Regions from separate parts of the Homo sapiens genome. Here region 1 is linked to region 2. Evidence: promoter capture Hi-C in 16 types of primary human blood cells and fetal thymus (Javierre and others, 2016). All regions are on one chromosome and are shown on one strand. The core of a region is centred on a gene start or on the middle of the fragment in contact, and the rest is flanking DNA. Distances in the headings are between cores, read along the strand shown. Region 1 overlaps LOC105369844 (a long non-coding RNA gene). Region 2 holds the start of GLIPR1L1 (GLIPR1 like 1).

Evidence for each region. Contacts are between HindIII fragments. The CHiCAGO score rates a contact against its expected background, and 5 or more counts as called.
Region 1: a fragment that was not itself captured here is called in contact with the fragment with the promoter of GLIPR1L1 in region 2 in 1 of 17 cell types (neutrophils); the score reaches 6.5 in neutrophils.

Annotation. Positions count from the first base shown.
Region 1 is chr12:75,820,684-75,823,383 of GRCh38, reverse strand. The region is part of intron 1 of LOC105369844 (a long non-coding RNA gene); the gene reads left to right. Among named protein-coding and RNA genes, the nearest start is that of PHLDA1-AS1, 210 kb to the left of the region's middle. The HindIII fragment of the contact is 5,786 bases long and covers 1-2,700 here.
Region 2 is chr12:75,333,388-75,336,087 of GRCh38, reverse strand. It overlaps GLIPR1L1 (GLIPR1 like 1), which reads right to left and starts at 1,418. Exons shown (of 6, transcript NM_001304964.2): 1 at 1,186-1,418. The coding sequence starts at 1,359. It also overlaps a transcript of CAPS2 not described here. RefSeq lists a silencer at 1,572-1,681. The HindIII fragment of the contact is 15,549 bases long and covers 1-2,700 here.

The DNA of each region.
Region 1 (2,700 bases), core at 114-2,613, 490 kb before region 2:
ACATTGTGGAGACAAAGCCTGAGCTGGATACCCCAAGTTTCAGAGGAGATCTTGGAGATCATGGAGTTCTATCTTTTTCTGGCAAAAATGAAGAAACCGGGGCCTCAAGAAGTTTAATGACCTTTCCAGCATTACGTGGCCAGATAATAGAAAGGTTAATATTGGAAAGATTAAAACTGGAGGTCATATCTTGATGAGGAAAACCAGTGTTATGGCATTGGGCAGACTTTGAAGACAGAGATATGGTAGTATTTTGGGGAGAGGGAAGAAGAGGGAATTACTTAACCTCTTTGAGCTTCTCCCTATAAGCATCTTCTCTGTAAAATGTCTTCATATCTGTCTGGTGAGACGGTTGGATAATCGAATGAAGTTGTGAGCTTAGCAGAATATCTGGTGTATGGAGTGTGCTAAATAAATGATCAATTTTATAAATTTGTCTTTGAACTTTATGTCATTAGATTTAAAATAAAAGAGGACATTTGTTCCATTTTCTTTGTATTTCCAGCTGAATTTACTGCCCTTTACTAACCACCCCAGCTCAAACCTGTTTCAGAGCCCATCTGGATTGTGGTCGTGAACTAGCCCTGACACTTATAGGCTCTTGCTGCTGCAGATTTATCAGAGAAAGCCTAGAGACAGCCTTGCTCTCATCTTCGTGTCTGCTCCACCCTTGCTCCTTCCTCAGTCTGCTCCTTACACATGCCTGCCATACTCCATGTCATGCTGCCAGACATGACAGATACATTCAGCTTTCTGTCTCATTCCCTTCTAAGTATTCCTGTTTGCCCTGGCATTCCAGCCCATCTCTCACCCCAGAATCTTTGGCTGGAGCCATAACTTGGATTGGACTTGAGCCAGTCATTTCCTCCAGTCCCAGAGACATCTACGTGGGATGTTTGCCCAATGGCAGCCAATCCTAGAAGTCTCAAATGTGTCCTTACAAGTTTCTCAGTGTGTCTCCTAGGCCTAGGTGGAGCTAGGTGCCTAGAAATGCAGAGTGCTAGACAGAGGGATGTGGAATTTCATGACACGCTTGCCTCGTAGACCCCTACAATAAGTTACTCTGTTCTACGCAAGAATGTGAAAGGGTCACCTTCCTTTCTACCTGGGTCATCAGGACACCTGGGGTTTCTCTCTTATGATCTAGAGGTTGATGTCCAGTAGGAATCTCTTTGGATATCTTCAGATGATCTGGCTGGGTTTTGATCCCTGCTTTGTGTCCATCTTTCCAGTCTGTGACATGGAGTGTGGATTGCAATGGGGTCTTGCTTCTTCTCTAGCATCTGTCTTTAACAGAGAATAGACCACTCTCTGGTGACTGATAATGCAGCCTTATGGGGCAGTTATGAGATTGCAGATCAAGTTGCACCCTGATTGATTCCCCAAATGTGATTGCCTCCTTTATTTACACATGGCTTGGACTAGGAGAAATGATCTGCCTCTGTGTCCTTTCCCACAGCTTTGGACTTGGTCTTAGACTATCAGTTGTTAAGGTAAAAAAAATTATTTTTATACTGACTTGGAGATTTGACAAAAGTTCTTCTAGACACTAAGCATACAATAGATAGGGCTTTTTGTGATTTTTCCTCTTTAAGTATACAAGGCACGAAACCCTATAAAACATTACAAATTACCATACTTTCCCTGTATCAAAAATAAAAAAATTTACAGATTAACTTTTCCTTTATTCAAAATGGCACTAGTTGTAATGAGTTCCATAGTGGGGAATTATAGGCAATTGAAATATCTGCCTTGTTGAATAGAAGAAGGTGAGTAAGAACATTTATGTTGATTTTCAACCTCGAATGTTAGTCTGCGGATGTATGTGAGAAGTGGCAACACAGATCAGCTTTCTTAGCATTTATCTTGACTCTGGCTCTTAGGATGAATCACTTGTATCATAAGATTTGGGTTGCTTATCACTTCTGGAGATGCTTGTCTTTTTCTACCTACCTTTCTCTTGCCATGATCATGGGGAAGACTAGCACTATTTACTGAAATTCCAATGAGGCAATAACTTAGGAAAATGGCCATGTCAGTTATGACACCACTAAAAACCTGTTTAGTAAGAGAGCAGTTATGGGATTTTAAAAAACCATTGCAAATCACAGTCCTCCTTTAGCACTGAATCCTCCTTGACCTAATTCCCCCCCCCACCCCCGCCGCAACTCAGTTCCCCAGCTGAGCCTGTGACTTCAGCTTGTAAACTATCCTTGGCCTGGGATAGCCAATAAGGCAGCAAGATGCAGCTGTTCGACAGGGTGGCCAAAAATATAAGCGTAAAAGATGGATACATATTTTCCCTTTTTGATTGGTTTACATTTACCCCCGATTCATGAACATATTGTTTAAACTTGCTTTTCCAAAGCCCCATTAATCTTTGCTATTGGTTCGTCTCCTGTTTCCAAACATGACCTCACTCCAAGTGCCGCCCAGTGGTGAGCAACTCTGAAGTATTTTCTTTTCGCCATCCAAGAGAATCAGGGTGGAAGATTGCCGAGTTGGTGCTTGTTTAGGAGCTTTTCAAAATGAATCATTGGAGTGTGGGGATTTGATGTGGATTACTGGCCAAGTAATTATCGGAAGATATTAAGTATTGGAACTCAGGCTTTTGTATAAGTAGAATTAAAGCCCATGTCCTGGCACATGAGCTTGTCATTTGGGAGTGATGAAAATTATGTACCCTTGTTAGCATTTCTC
Region 2 (2,700 bases), core at 169-2,668:
CACTTCACTTCATTTTTTATGCATTGGTTATAATGTGTTTAGTTTCTACATTATTATAAACTCCACAATTCATTGTTATCATATTTTGCTTTAAATAGTCAATGAGTACAAAAGAAATATAAAGAACATTTATTATATTTAACCCCACATTTACTCTTTTTTATCATACATTTACAATAAAACTCTAAAGGCATCAACCATATTAATACTAATATTAGTATTTCTGAATTCCGTTGAAGATTTATTTCTAGTTAATTTATGCCTTGGACAACCCCAAGCTGGTAAACATTATATATTAAAATATCTTAACAATTCTGCATTAAAGAGATTAGTTTATTCTTGTTTCATTTCTGATACATATTTGAATCTTTCTCCATCAAAATATAATTTTCTTATACAGTAGACTAGTACAGTTTTGAACTTATTTTAATGCCTGAGTTGTGATTTTATAATTACTTTTGTTTTCCACTGGATAGAAAAGAAGAAAGCTGGAATAGATATGAGTTATACTGTATCTACATCTGCATAGCACATAAAATAGACTAATACTATCAACGTTTATGCTCATAGTGATGCATTTATAAACAAGAAAAAGTTACAATGCAAGGGAAATTTCCAATCATACAATTCATAGTCAAGTATTTAAAATTTTGTAAATTCTATGGATTATTTAATAATCCAATGCTTTTTATGCTTATTCTTCAATAGAGTACTGTATTTTTTTCAAATAATACTACACATGAAGTGTTGTTTTGATCTTGGATTCATATGATATAAAAATAAGTAAGAGAACAAGAGAATCTCCATTCCTGGGCTATTTCTTTGGTATCTTGTATCTTGGTTGTGGGGGGTGGAAATTGCTAGCTAAAAAATGGAAGAAAGAAAACAAAATAATCCTGTGTTCAGTACTTATAACTTTAGTGGTGCAACAAAGCAACTTCCAAACACTGCTCCAGCATCCCCACCTTCCCCGCAAGAGGCAAGGAACAGCTTCAAGTCTTCCTTTCTTGTTCACTCCTATGACTCTGGAGGAGACAGCCCAACCAAGGTGTGAATTTTTTTCTTTTTAACTGCATATATGTAAAGTCCGGATTGAATTAGTACAAGTTAAGTCCGTGAAATTTATCACCCAGATACCTCAGGATGAGTCAGGGATTTAAGAGCCCAGCCCTGGTTCTTTCTCACCATGTATTTCATGTCGGCCGCGGGAGGGTTGACTTTGCCACGCCATTCGTTGTGGGCTTCTATGCAGTTGTCTATAAAGTGTGGGTCAGTGATGGATGGGATTTTGGAAGATGTAGTGGCTACCAAACACAGACCCAAGATCCATAAACAACTGAATTTATTCTTCAGAGCCATGGAAGGATGTGGAGGATGCGGAGGATGCCCTGACTGCGCGGACCAGTAACGGCTGGGGCAACCCGATTTCCCCACGCCCCCGCACCACGCTCTCCCTTGGCTCCATCCTGCCGCACAGGCTCGAGCCCAGCGCGGCTGGATCAACTTGTCAGTGTCGCTGTGGGGAAGAACAGGCAGCAGGGTTCCCCTTCCACAAAGCTCTGAGCTACAGGGGAAAGCTCTGAGTCGCCCTCTGGTGGAGGGAATTTCAACCATCCAAACTGCTTTCTGTGGATCCAATCTGTAATCTGCAGAGCGCGTCTGGATTGTAATACAGATTGCAATATGCAAGCCACACAAGTTAGGTAAAGAACAAGTGCGGGATGCTGACAATGGGCCAGTCGAGTGCAAAGCACTATATATTCGTTTCTTAGACGCAGCTTCCGTGTATAGATTTTTATTGTTCTAAATAATCTAGAATCATATTGCCACTTCCCTCAGAGATTGGGAATAGAGTAAGAATAGGCAATTCTTATACAGTGACATACAGTGATCCTAAATTATCAACTTGTCAAACATTTAATAATTTCCTTCTGTTTTTTCGTCTGAAGAGACCGAATGCTTAGATAGATAACAATAGATGCTTGGAAAATGTAGCCAAGTAGTTCCTCTTGACAAAATCTTCCCTTTTTGATAGTTTGGAACAGAGCCACTGTATGGTGACTGGTAGACTCCAAGAGTTGCTTTAATTGATACACTGAGACTGGGATGGACAGAGTACATTTGATTGTCTATTTTACCTGCAATGCAATATAAATCAACGTCATTTGGCTTAATGTTTTAAATTCATTACATCAGTTATATTGATATTCTGTAATAAACCAGCATTTTTCCCCATGACATTAATTTTTTTTAGTATTTCTATGTTTCAAATAAATACCTTTACTTAGTAATTTGAAGTTGTTTACAATGCTGTTTAATTCAAGTGAACACGTACTTACATCTGCTGAATGATCCGCCATAGTCAACCTTGACACAAAAAACAAAAACCAAAACAAACTACTTTGATGCAGCTACTATCTTTTTAAAAATAAAAAGCAGAAAATTAGATTATAAGAAAACGAAAAATGCAAGGATCCTAATGGAAATTCTACTGGGCAATAGATAATATATTTCTAGTCTACTACCAGCTAATGGAGAATTGCTGTATATACTACTTTCATATCACATACATAGTCCAAACTGAGCTTCTGATATCCCACACCCAAAGACATGAACATATATACGTGTGTGTGTGTGTGTATATGTGTGTGTGTAGGTATACAGATAGATAAATCAATACAGTTATATACATCTACATGT